Regions from separate parts of the Homo sapiens genome. Here regions 1, 2, 3 and 4 are each linked to region 5. The links are contacts of gene promoters, found by promoter capture Hi-C in blood cells and fetal thymus (Javierre and others, 2016). All regions are on one chromosome and are shown on one strand. The core of a region is centred on a gene start or on the middle of the fragment in contact, and the rest is flanking DNA. Distances in the headings are between cores, read along the strand shown.

Region 1 (2,700 bases), core at 26-2,525, 340 kb before region 5:
TGTTGTCTGCTTAAATCTTTCCCTGGGCCATAGTTTTCTCATCTATAAAATGAAGAGAATATCACATGTTCTATCTAAGCCAGGGTGATGTTATAAGATTTAGATAAGAAAATGGATGGGAAAATACTCTGTAAGTTGTAAAGTGCTATAATTATGATGATTTTCCTAAATAGCATTAATTATAGCAACCAGTAACTATAAATTAATATGAATAATATAGCTATTGTTAATTATTCTTCTTCTTGAGGGAAGCATCATTCATTAAGTGTTCCCTTGGGGTATTAGTAAAGAGACAGGATTTAATCAGGTCTTCTACATCTGTACTTTACTGAAGCAGAAAGTACATCAACTGACTATGCCTGAAGTCACTGCAATATCTAACCACTGAGACTCAACAAGTCACAGAATTACCCTGAACTACACAATAAAACAAGTAATTATGATATGCAACCAGTCTGTGCTTGTAAGACATCAATTAGTTTCCAGGGTCCTTATTCTCCCTACCCTCTAAGTTCAGACTGCTCCCTATTTTCAGTTTCTCAAATTAGGTTGATGCAATTTATCACAAGTTCCAGTCTAATGCTGTGTGATTTTGCACAAAAACTGGATAACAGGGGAGCGTGGGGTGAGAGGGGAGAAGATTGTGCAAATACTATAGTAGCTTTACTCCTACATTTCAATTCCATTATGAATTAGAATAGGCCTTTTTTTCACTCTTGAGTCTCAATTTTATATCTCAGTTCAAATAACTGTTGTCCTGCCCAAGTCCTGCCACGAATCTGTAGATATTCATTTACCTTTCGATTTAGGGGATCTTGCTACTCTCAATCCCTTATAGTAGATACCAGGATCCAAAGTCCTATAACCAAGCAACAGAATCCTATAGACTTACCAACATGTCTTTCTCCTAACTCCCTATCTTTGTAGCTGTGCTAGTTACCTGACTGGTAAATGACCTTCCCAATGCCAGCAACAAGGAAGATTCTCCTGACTAATGCTTTTTCTAGTTACCACCACAAACTTTTATAAAGTAGTTAATGTAATTATAACAATCCCCACACTCTTTAACCATCACTAGAGAGATTTCAAAGATTACATCGTCTTAGTCTGTGTTCTGCCAAGAAAAACAATGCCTGTGAGAAAAGCTCGCATGTTGGCCATTTATTTTGGGAATCAATTCTGAGAAACAGTACTGAGGGACTAGAAGGAGTTAAGCAGAGAAGGAAGGAGATATGGTTTGGCTGAGTCTCCACCCAAATTTCATCTTGAATTGTAGTTCTCATAATCCCCATGTGTTGTGGGCAGGACCGTGTGGGAGATAATTGAATCACGGGGGCATTTTCCCCTATACTGTTCTCCTGGTTGTGAATAAGTCTCACAAGTCTCAGAAGTTAAATGGTTGCAGAGAAGGCCCGGCACAGAAAGTGAGTGAAAGGTGTTGCAGTTGAAGCCAAGTGCTACCAGGTCACACCTGTGCAGAGCTGATCGCTGTAGCAGCTGCTGGTACACGAAGGTGGGAGGGGAAGATGCGAGGTGGGGCACCAAAGGTGTCTACTGACAGCGTCCCTTTACCAAGGACCACAAAAATCCTATGAATAAACCATTCGAACATGTTATTTTTATATTTATTTTTATGCATTATCTGAATACATATGTGATAAAAAGCTCACCAAACCACAGTTGGGACTTATTATGACTTGACAAATCATAATAAGTGCTGCCAGCAGAATTATAGGATGATGACTCCCCCACTGTAAGTACATAAAGACAGTCCAATAAATAGCCCAGAACCAAAATGTACAGCGTGTGAATGAAATGAACTTAGGCCATTATCAAGAGTCTGATTTTGAATGGGTCATATTTCAGGCCAACTATCACTAACCCACTAACTACAGGTGATAGACGAGGAGTACCAGCAATTGGTTATGAAAGAGCATTCATTTGTATTTATTTACTTTTTCATTCTTTATATCCAAAAAATTTAAATTCACAGAGAAGTTGAACAACTATTAAAATAAACTCCACTCACCCATCCTTCACCCAGATTCATCAGTGGCCACCATTTCATCACACTAGCTTTCTGTCTACATAAATTAGATTTGCTGTTGCAATTGAACCATCTGTAAGATGTTGCAAAACCACCCCCCGACATCCCCCATATGCACCTCAGTTTGCATCTCCTAAGAATTTCTAATTTTTTCAAAACCATTCTCACACTGGAGAAATTTAACATAGAAACAGTATTATCTAATATCACCCATACTCACATTTCACTAGTGGTGCCAGTAGTGTTCTTTTATCTACTGTTAATTTTCACCCCAAATCCAAGGATCACATCATAAAATGATATGTCTTTTTATTCTCTTTTAATTTAGAACAGGCTCCTAGCTGATTTTTGATTTTTATAAAGCCAACTTTTAAAATAATTCTGGTCAGGTGTCTTATAAAAAGTCCAACCAATCTGGTTTTTCTTGATGACTGGATTCAGATTAAATAAGTCAGGCAGGAATATCACATGCGTGAGGCCACATCCCTTCTGCTGCATCCCATCAGGAAGCTCAAGGGTCAGTTTGGCCCATGCTTGGTGATGCTGAGTTTGATGACTCGATTAAGGTAGTGTGTACCAGATTTCACCATTTTAAGCATGACTGCATGATTTTTAAATTAAAAATAATCTGTGAGGTGATATTTTGGGGCACT
Region 2 (2,700 bases), core at 156-2,655, 300 kb after region 5:
CCCTAATGTTAACATTTTTACCACACTTGCTTTATCGTTCTTTTTCTACAAATATATAGAAGGGTTTTTTTTTTTTCTCTGAACTGTCTGTGAGTATGCTGTAGACATGATATCCTTTTACTCCTAAATACTTCAGGGTGTATTTCCTAAAAACAAGGATATTCTTTTAACACGACCACAGTATAATTAGCAAAATTATGAAGTTAACATTGATACAATATTAATGTTAATCTATACACTCTATTCAGATTTTGCCATTTTTTGCATTAAGGACCCTCTTGCTCTACTCTCATATGTTGGCATGGTTTGCCAATGATCTTTTCTCTGGTGAGGCCTTTTATTGTGATGGGATTCCCTTTACTTTCGGTGTCAAAATATCCTTTATTTGATGGGACAATAGTATTTTTATTTACTAGTATTTTTAAATGTTTATTACACAAAATTAAAGATGTCAATCTTATGTCATTTCTTCTTATTTTATTGATTCATTAGTCAAGTTTAAAACCACTGGCATAATTTCGCTAGTCCTCTATTGTTGGACATTTAAATTGTTTCCAGACTTTTAAAGTTCAAACACTGTGGCAGTAAGCAAACTTATATATTTATCTTTTCATTAACATGTGGTTATTTTTGTAGGATAAATCCAAGAAAATAGAGAAGATCAAAAGAAGATACATAGCTGAAAACACTTGAAGGTATAGACTACCTTGAAAGTCACGCAAGAACTGTTCTTCCTGCTTTCCATATCCAAGGTAAATACATTATCCCAATCAATCAGTTACCAGGGTTAAAAAATTGTCTGCAGATGTGAAAATACATATATATATATATGTAACCCCTGCCTCCCGACTTTCTCCAGAGATGAGCTTTTAATTGCTGTGCATTGGAGAACAATCAACTTTCCCTCTTCAGTGTCAGGGTGACACAAATTTCTGCAGGCCCAGACTCTTACTACAAATCCACTTATATCTCTTCCATCTTGGCTGCCAAAAGGGTGTTTTCCTCTGCACCTAGCATTTTGAGCAGCCTAAACAGGTCAGGGAAGCAGAGAATAGCTTCCATGTGCTCTAAATCAACTCTGAAGGTTCAGTAGAGAGGTCATCATCTTCAGCAAGTAATGTTACCTTTTCCTTTTATTTGGTTTTGGTGATGCTGTTTTCAAGGTATTTGATGAAAATATTTTCAAACTTTCTGTGTTTCCTTAGTCAGAAAACCCTTTGAAGGAGCCAATGGGAAGAGGTAAATGGCTCCAAGTTCATTTTCCAGGAAAGCAGACTTTATATCAAACAGCTGAGCACATTTCCCTTCACCACCTAGAGCTGGCTCATAATCTGAGTGAGATTTACACCTCCCTACACCAAACTGTGCATATACAATCCTAGAATTTTAGAGCTGAGTGGAGCTTTGGGCCAAACTGTGCATTTTACAGATGAGGGAAATTAGCCTCAAGAGTGGAAATGCCTCCCTCCAGGTCTCACGGTGAACCAAGGCCATGGCTCCAACAGGGTGCAGTCTCCTGGAGGTGCAGCGAATCTACTGGGATGCCAGGATGTTAGAACTTCTATTTATGTAATTTTTGAAATGATTATAGACTTCACAAGAAGCTGCCGAAAGAAAATGGAGAGGTCTCACTGCACCCTTCACCTACTTTTCCTCTGTGGTAGCATCTTGCATAACTGCAGTCTTGTTAAAACAAGGAAATGGACATCAGTACAAGCCAGAGTCTGTTTGTATTTCCCGTATTTATATGCACTTATTTGTGTGTGTGTGCTTCTATGCAACTTTTTTGCATGTGTAGAATTACATAACCACCAAGAATTGTTTATATTTTAAATTTAGAAAAGAAAGACAACTGAATGAATGTTTAATAAGTGCACGGGCACTACTGCCTATATTGCTGTTTGTATGTGCATTTGACAATTGCATGCTTTATGACACCTGAGAAATACCTCTCACCTGAGAAGAGGAGTTGAACCATGTGGCAATCTACATTTATTTTTTCTTGAACTCTCAGTGTATCGTCACATTCATCAGTTTACAAGAGCCCCATCAAGCGGATCTATGGATGATGTTATCCAGTTTCCATTAACCTAATCTTTCAAAATGGACTTCAGTGAGTTAAAATGATTTCTGCCTTAAAAAACCTCTGCAAGCAGGCCCGGCGCGGTGGCTCACGCCTGTAATCCCAGCACTTTGGGAGGCCGAGGCAGGTGGATCACAAGGTCAGGAGATCGAGACCATCCTGGCTAACATGGTGAAACTCCGTCTCTACTAAAAATCCAAAAAAAAAAAAATTAGCCAGTCGTGGTGGCGAATACCTGTAGTCCTAGCTACTCGGGAGGCTGAGGCAGGAGAATGGTGTGAACCCGGGAGGCGGAGCTTGCAGTGAGCTGAGATCGCGCCACTGCACTCCAGCCTGGGAGACACAGGGACACTCTGTCTCAAAAAAAAGAAGAAAAAGAAAACCTCTGCAAACAGTAGATTGAAGATAATACTTACGTTGCAAACACAACCAGACAACAAGGAAATGGCAGAGTTAACCCTTTCTACTCCTGGTAAAAACTCTGCCAGCCATGTGACAAGATAAAAGCAATTATCATCTAACCTGAGCTGACAGGAAGTCAACAAAGGACAAAATAACCTGTCCAGAAGATATTTTGAAAACGGATTTGTATCCATCGTTGTTTACAATGTAAATGT
Region 3 (2,700 bases), core at 5-2,504, 260 kb after region 5:
GGAGTAACGAAACTTTCTTCTCCTTGACTCTCCCAGCAATCTGTTGATTTGGTGTCAACAGGTATTACAGGTATCTGTGTGTCACTTAGGCATTACATTTATTTAGAAAAGAAAAGTATGTTAGAGACTGGATGTCTCCCCCTGCCCCATTAAACTGACACAGGGAACCCCAGGATGACAGGGAGTTCAGATCTTCTAGAAGTGACCACTCCAAGCTTCAAGCTTGACCCTTTAGACCTTAAATCAGTGGTTTCCAAACTTTTTGCATACCCTCCCAGTAAGAGAAATAAACACTTGAAATGGCTTTTTTGCTTAATTCTGATGGACACATTAAAAAAACAAAGCGTTTGTCTAGAGGTAGTGAGAAGAATGCTGATTTAAATGAGAAGACAATGAGAGGCAAAGTGATGTTGGGGGCGGGGTGGGGAGAACAACTCGAGACTTGGCCTAGGGTCAGAAGATCTGAGTTTACTAACTTAATCTCACTAAGCCTCACTTTCCTCATCTGTAAAGTGTGAATGCTAATTACAAAATGAGATCACATATGTGAAAGCGTTTGCCTTATAAATGGTAAGGGATATGCAAAGGTTCATAGCTATTACTATGTATAAGCTTTTAAATATTAATGATTAATTTGTGTTAGAAATGAAATTTCAGACTTCATCATAGAATAAGGTTTAATCTTTCCGATTTTCTTATCTGCAAAGTTTTTATAAAACATAGTTGTCCGCATTATTGATTTATTTGCATGCCACTTACTTTAAAAAAGGATTTGAAGTAACATATACTGTTAGTCACAGAAATTACAGGATCATTAAAACACAGATGAAAGATTAAGACCTTGTCATGAAAGGACAGCTCGAAGAAAAAAACACAGAATAAGAATAATTTTAATCAAGCATATGATGTGATTTTGAGCTTCCCAGCAGCTTAGACAAGAAAGGAACATGCATTGCATTTCACAGCCCTCTTCCTCTAGTAAAGGAAGAATAGCTATGGATCAAGGGGGACCCAGCCCTTTCTAGCCCTAAACTCCACAAGAAATGTATCATGTGCAACCTTATATAAGAAATATCAAAAATAAATTGGGTGGTATCTTCAAACCGAAATGTAGCAAAGATACTATTCAATCTGACCACTAGGCGAGATTTTCCTTTGTGAATCAGTGCTTGCCTTCCCAGAACTAAACAAACAGCAAGATGATTAATATAAGGAGCAGGCTGCCTTAAAAAAAAAAAAAAAAAAAAAAAAAAAAAAAAAAAAAAACGAAAACAAAAAAACAGAGAGAGAGAGAGAAAGAAAAAGAAACAGAGCAGTGAAAATCAGAATGCCTGCCCCAGCCGGCTGGGGCGTGTCGCTGTCACCATTCATTAGGGGGTGTCAAGAAGGCGAGGCAATACGTGAGGTGCCTTGCACAAGGTCACTTGGTGTCTGTGAAACTGACTCTGCATTCTGAGTTCCTTAATATGATTTTTTAGGTCACAGTGTTCTAGGCAAAGCTCCCTGTTGATGTACATCTCTCATGCAAGATTTAGATCACCTCTTTTCGGGCAGAGCTCCATGGAAACACCGCCCATGATTTCTGAAAAGGAGTCTGATTGGGCCCTGGTGATACCCGGCTGGAGTGGACAGTGATCTCTGCAGTGGACACATTGCTGGACTGTTGGCAAGGCTACAGCTACCAGAATCTAGTCCTTGTAGGCTATTATTATTCTAATGCCATAGTAAATTCCTGTTTATCCAAAATGGCTAGGAAATGGGGCATTCTGAGCAATGGAAAATTCTGGTTCATTGGGTTACCCTCCATATCATTTACTGATTCTTGGTTTCAAAATAAGTAAATTACAACACACTTTGCTAATCACTAAAATGATAGTGGGTATGATTTAAGCTTTTTTTTTTATGATCCATAAGGTACTTCAGGATCTATTAGCACCTAATACCATTGTTAAGATCGCGACTTGTCATTTTCAAGGATTTGAGGTAGAAATGCAGGAGGTGGGGACAATTGGGCTGCATCAGTATTAACTCCCAACCAGATCGCTGGAACTGCTGCTGCAGTTGAGTTGAATCATTTCTTCCTTCATACCAGTTTGTTGGCAAGTGAAATAATAAGCATAAACATATTATCATAGTGCCTGGTATAGAGTAAGTCATTATTTTGTTATTATTTTTTTCCTCAAGAACATCAGGGGAAAGAAGAAAAGAATCGAATTCTTAACTAGCCAATTTGGTGTCTGAACAAATTCAATTCATAGAGCATTAGTTCTGACAGGAACCACGAAGAAAATATGCCTAATTTCATCATTTTCTGTAAAAGATAATTAAGGCCCAGAGAGGGAATGTCACTATAGCCTCATGTCTGTGAGGGGTTAGAGTTGATACTAGAACCCAAATATTCTGGGGCTAAGACCAGGGATCTTTTTAGCAGACCAACTCTTACCTTTATGCAGAGTTTCTGCACAGCAGGAAACAGAGAGCTGGAGGAGAAATGGCCTGTTTGCTCGGGGACTCTAGGAACTTACCCTATCAATACGGTTTGAAGGTCATCAAAGTCCCCTTCTGTACAAAAGCCCTGGCTATGACTCCAAAACACTTCACAGGGTAAAGGATTAATGAAGTCCCCATGATTCAGTCAAAATGAAAACTTTTTAAAAATAGCAAAGAGTCACACAACTCCCCACATCTGCAAGAGTAACT
Region 4 (2,700 bases), core at 172-2,671, 370 kb after region 5:
ATGGGTTCTAAAAGAGTAATTGTTTGCTATGAGGACAAATGAGAGGATATTCCGGATTCAGGGAAGGTAGTGTGCAGAGCTATGAAAAAGTCTGCTGCATTCAGGACATTCATAGTGGCTGCAGCATAGGCATTTTGCTACTAGGCGATGGAATTAGCCCAACATAACCATGAGCCATGGTAGCTAGAGGAAGCACAGATCCACCTATCCATTGAATCACATTTTTTCATTAACAAAGACTGGCTTCTTTTTCTTCTCGGCTAATGTCTTTCCCATTACCAAGGCAATTAAACAATAGCAGTGAAAGGAGCATTGAGCCTGGAGCCAGGAGACCTGGGTTTTAATTCCAGCCTTGCCCCATGCTCTGTTGGTGACTTTAGATGATTTTTTCACTCTCTGAACCTCAGTAACCTCATCTCTAAAGGAGAGATTGGAACAGAAGTGACAACTAAATCTCTAGTGTCACTTCCAACTTTAACATTATCTGGTTCTTGGCAATTATAGCATGACAAAAGGGGTACAGTAATTTTCATTCTGGTGAAAGCCCAAACAGAAAATGCAGGACTTTCTGTCATATCACTTCACTTTTATTTCTAGACCTTGGAAGCTGGTAAAATGGAGCTGCCCATGGTTGTTCCTGGAGTCTAGGCCTGGCCTAGATTAGGTGTCCAAGGTCAGCTCAAGGCTAAATCTTATTTGTCTTGGAAGCATTAGTCTTTCACTGTGCTGGAATCATCCAAGGCTGTCAAGAAATGTTGGATGAATGAACATACGGGATCTGGTCCTGGATTGGTCTATAGGCTTAGAAATTGTTTGTATGGATGACTTTGAGGGGACCTTATACACACTTCCCCTCTTAGGGGAGACTCTGAATCAGAAACAGTTTCTTCAAGTCTGCTCTAATATTGCCCTATATCTCTAGGAGGATTACAGGATTGAATAAATAGGGAGTGGGTCAAGACAAAGGTCTAGTGCATATGTGAAATTATGCAAATTCCAAACAAGAAATGGCCACCTGGCCCTAGATCTTATGGACATACTAATAAATATTTCTGAATGGAATAATTCTAGACATAGGTATCTATCCCTCCTAAATTACTGGGGGAAAGTCAGACTAATGCCTCAAACTTTTTGGTCTGTTTTCAAAGATGTTCAAATGTTGCATCCCAGGGAAGCCGTGGTGGTGTTCTTTGTCACGTCCAATAAAATGTTCTTATGGAACATTTAATTTTCTTTTCTTATGGAAAAACACTTTTGCTAACAAACAAGGCAGTATTATTTTATGTATGCAACCTGTAATTGTGGGAAACATCAGCTTTGGAGTCAAGAAAGCTGGTTTCAACTCTGGGCTTTATTGCTTAATAGTTGTGTACGTAGCGGATGAATTATTTCATCATTGAATCTCAGTTTCTTCATCTATACAAAGGGCGTGATAACACTGTTCATAGATCTTAAAACAGATGGTACATATAAACTGCATGGCATATGGTAAGTTTTCCATAAATACCATTTATTTTTCTTATTATTTTTCAAAAAGTAAAAATAATAAAGATATCATATTTCTGAGTTCTCTCATTGTCTGTTATTAGTTTGTTGTGTTATATGATTGTCCTTGCAAGCAGACAAGTACTGCAATCACCAAGAGCTTGAAAATAATTTAAGAAAAAAAAAAGTATTGTTACTACTATTATTATTTGCACACAAATTGCTAAGACACTTCCAATTTTGGAGGCAAAACCCAGAATTCTGAGGGTGTATCATTGTGGCAATCTCTGGCTTTGCACAATCATATTTTAGACATTAAATAGCTCTGAACCTTGTATTCTAGATCCATAGGCCACAGCAAGCTGAAAGGTTCTTAGAGGCCATCCTGAAAAGCCCTTCTATGGGTGAAGAAACTGAGACTCAGAGACAGAAGTGGCTTGCCCAAGATCTCCCACATGATTAGAGACAGTGTGAAGACTGGAATTTGTATCTTCCGATTCCTCATCCAGTAACAGCTTGTTGCCCCAGAGCCTTTGCTGACTCACCATGTAATCTTGGAAAATTCCCCTGACTTCTGTTTACTGGTCTTTCCATGAAACAAAAGATGGCGAGGATATCTCATGATCCATACCTCATGCAGATGTCAGTGGATTTGTTAGGACTAGGCTGCAATACACATTCGGCTCTGTAGAACTGGGCACAATCCATTAATAATTCATAAAAGACACCTAAGTATTACAAAGGGAAGTGGTTTGTCATTGTCAGATGGAAGGAACCTCCTTTCACGTGGTGGGGCAATTCAATGTTTTGCAGTCCATAGTGTACCCAGTGACCCTGCCTGAAGTCACTCAACCTCTCTCAGACCCACTGTACTCAACTGGAAACTGAAGATATGGCCAGAGTATCATTAAGTTTTCTTCTAGCCCTAATATTCTCATACTTTATCAGTTACTTCAATTTAGAACCCCATCATGGACTAACTGTACTTCCCAATAATAAGGATCCATAGCAGCTGAGAGTCACCAGCAAGAAAATCAAAGCAGCTAATGAGAATGAAATTGAAAGTAGGAAAGGAGTATAGATTTCTCTTTAAGCGTTGCCTATCTGGTCTAGAAATGTTACCATGTAAAGATACACTAAGATCTCTTAACATTGAGTAAGATTTCCAGTCAATGTTTCAGAAGCATTCCAGGTTTCCTGTCTCTCTTCTGTCGT
Region 5 (2,700 bases), core at 129-2,628:
TATGTTGCTTCACAAGTAATTTCTGACCAGTCAGGCACAGATGCCATGCAAAAGACAAGGCCTCAAGGTGCCATTATCTGTCAAATGGACCCAAGGCAGGATGAGGCTGAATGAAAGAGGAGGAAGAGGAAGAAAGGCTCACTCAGGGGGAGAGGGGAAGCTGCTGCAAGCTAACTACTGCTCTCACTGACTCAGGATGCCCATTTCTCACAACCAGAGGCCACAGTTTTGGAGCAGACAAGAGACTGCAGAGAGGCTTGCTGAAGCTCACTCCACGGCTGGATTCCTGGCAGGATGAGAAATGGAGTTCTAGTAAACTAGAAGGAATGCTGCTGGCAGGAGACAGACCTCTCGAGAGGGCTTTAAATGGAAATATGAGAGCACGAGAGGAACTCTAAGTGTAGAAAATGCACTGGGCAAACAAGCGTGTCGCAGATGTGGGCGCCCCAGAAGGGAAGGAGCTCTGGAGTCACAGGGGACCCAAAGGACAGAATGTCAGGTGGCCCTCCAAGCCCGCAGGTGGCAATGGGAACAAGGCGGGAAATGAACTGGAGAGCTGAAGGCGGGGGCCTAGGAGGAGGCCGCAGAGCTGTGATGAAGGGCTGCTCATCAGAGGCACATGCACGGGTCAGATAAAGAAGCTCCGCTGCGAAGACAGGGGGCAATGCAAGGCCACAGCCGAAGATTCCATGCATGCTCTTCACGGTGGCAAATTCAAAAGCCTTGGAGGGCAGCATGCTTCTATGATAATAGGGAATGGGGGCCGGGGGGAATATGTAGACCCCATATCAATGCTCTCAAAACCTCTCTCTCTCTCTCTCTCTCTGTCTCTCTCCCTCCCTCTCTCTTGCTCACTCTCTCTCTCTCTCTCTCTCTCTCTCTGTCTCTCTCCCTCCCTCTCTCTTGCTCACTCTCTCTCTCTCTCTTTGTCGTGCTCTCTCTCTCCCTCTCTCTCCCACTCCCCACCTCTGGCCTAATATACCTGCATGTCCACAGAGGCACCAATCTGCAATGATGATGGACTCTCTCACCCACCCTGCTACTAGGAAACTTCTTCCATATATCATAAACAGAGACCAGTATTACAATACTTCACCCACTGCGCCAATTTGGCTTTCATGTCTGTTTCCTGTGTCGATCACAACATCCTAGACAGCCCAAACAAGGCTTTATTCACCTCTAGTCCCCGGTCCCTGGAACAGCAGACAATAAATAAGGAATCAACAAGTGTCCTTCACTGCCGCACACATTGGCTGTGAATATCCTTTTGCAAAGTGCAGAACATCTGAAAGATTCTCACATTGACTAAACAACAGTGTGACCTGAAGTTAAGAGAACCATAAAGGTAAATGATTGCTAGAAGTTTAATTCCAAACAAGGAAGAGCAATTTGATGCAATGGGCAGAAGACAAACATTGGGAGAATGAGAACGTATCCTCTTGAGTTGTGATGTGAACAAACAGAGATTCCAAGATCTTGCAAAAGCGAACAGTCAGCAACCAGCATGGTGCTTAGAGTAGTCCCTGGGCAACAGAAAAAAAACAGATAAATGAAGAAACATGGACAATCACCCTACCTGGGTCTCAGCGTGAGGAGGAGAACTAGGACTTCCAGACAGAAAAGAGGAGAAGCATGAGGAGGGGGCTGGGAAAGACATTTCCCTGTGGGCATGTGGTGCCCTCCACTGGGGCCAGAATTCCCAACCTGCCTCACTCTCCCCATCTGTGAAATTGGCTGATTCCCTGAGGTCCCTCCCAGCACTGACTATCAAGTGACAGAGAACCTAGAAACTCCAGGAGCTCCATCAGAGCCCTGACTACCTGTCCAAGTGAGACTGTGGGAGCCTCACTCTTCTCACACCTGTAAACTGAGGGTGCTGCAGTGTCAGCTATATCAACACTCCCAAGTATGCCTTTGCCAAAACCTCTATGGATGAGAAAGGAAAAGAGCATGTATGGAATTGGCCAGGGCTTAGAACCATCTTGAACATGACACACTTATGCACATCGTCACATCTTCCCAGCATCCCTGTCCCACCTCGGGCAGCAACTGTCAAAGTTCTGCCCCCAGGATGACCTCCCAGAGTCCTCAGGGCAGCTCCATCTCTCCAGCCCTCATTCCTTTCCAGCTCTTTGGTGTTTCCCTGTAATAAAAACACTGTGCACTTCTCTTTTCATGTTTTAACCATGAAGTGCCTTCCTCCAGACAAGTACTTTAATCCTTACTCCAGTCAGAATAGGTAACATCAGCATAATTACCATCATTACTCCCATTTTACAGAGGAGAGGGCTGAGGCTCACGTAAGACCTAATCTTCATCTTCCCAGGGATCCTCCAACTCCTAGCCAGGCCTCTCCCAGCTCCTAAATCAATCATGAAAGACTACAGCAATCACATCCAGTACTTTTCTGATCTAGTGTCTTTGCCGCTAAATAAAGGCAGAAATCAAGGTGGCAGGATCAATCCTGTATTCAAATCACTGTACTGTCTGCCACCCTCCTATGCTGGTCCAGGGAGCAGAACTGAAAATGTGCCTCAAGGCCCCAATCCAAAACAGATGCCATCACCCTGGACAGATTCTCCAACCATGCTCCAAGACTGGTATCCATCTCACTTCAACCAGCCCTCCTTCCCAGGCCTGGGTCTGTCTACTGGCACAGGGGGACCCTGCCATGAAAATGAGGGCATCTCTACTGGATTG

Evidence for each region. The method cuts DNA at HindIII sites, captures the fragments that hold promoters and counts their contacts. A CHiCAGO score of 5 or more calls a contact.
Region 1: a contact is called between a fragment that was not itself captured here and the fragment with the promoter of FLJ42393 in region 5, in 1 of 17 cell types (total B cells). The highest score is 5.0, in total B cells.
Region 2: a contact is called between a fragment that was not itself captured here and the fragment with the promoter of FLJ42393 in region 5, in 1 of 17 cell types (neutrophils). The highest score is 5.4, in neutrophils.
Region 3: a fragment that was not itself captured here is called in contact with the fragment with the promoter of FLJ42393 in region 5 in 1 of 17 cell types (fetal thymus); the score reaches 5.1 in fetal thymus.
Region 4: a fragment that was not itself captured here is called in contact with the fragment with the promoter of FLJ42393 in region 5 in 1 of 17 cell types (neutrophils); the score reaches 5.1 in neutrophils.

The regions. Positions count from the first base shown.
Region 1 is chr3:188,519,114-188,521,813 of GRCh38, reverse strand. All of the region lies in intron 5 of LPP (LIM domain containing preferred translocation partner in lipoma), which reads right to left. Among named protein-coding and RNA genes, the nearest start is that of LPP-AS1, 48 kb to the left of the region's middle. The HindIII fragment of the contact is 4,102 bases long and covers 1-2,700 here.
Region 2 is chr3:187,875,059-187,877,758 of GRCh38, reverse strand. LOC105374264 (a long non-coding RNA gene) reads left to right here. Exons shown (of 3, transcript XR_924813.3): 2 at 637-752. Among named protein-coding and RNA genes, the nearest start is that of LINC01991, 100 kb to the left of the region's middle. The HindIII fragment of the contact is 8,295 bases long and covers 1-2,700 here.
Region 3 is chr3:187,916,096-187,918,795 of GRCh38, reverse strand. No RefSeq gene overlaps it. Among named protein-coding and RNA genes, the nearest start is that of LINC01991, 59 kb to the left of the region's middle. The HindIII fragment of the contact is 1,279 bases long and covers 615-1,893 here.
Region 4 is chr3:187,811,367-187,814,066 of GRCh38, reverse strand. No RefSeq gene overlaps it. Among named protein-coding and RNA genes, the nearest start is that of BCL6, 67 kb to the right of the region's middle. The HindIII fragment of the contact is 4,554 bases long and covers 1-2,700 here.
Region 5 is chr3:188,177,221-188,179,920 of GRCh38, reverse strand. It overlaps FLJ42393 (a long non-coding RNA gene), which reads right to left and starts at 1,378. Exons shown (of 1, transcript NR_024413.1): 1 at 1-1,378. The region is part of intron 1 of LPP (LIM domain containing preferred translocation partner in lipoma); the gene reads right to left. RefSeq lists an enhancer at 2-614. The HindIII fragment of the contact is 11,595 bases long and covers 1-2,700 here.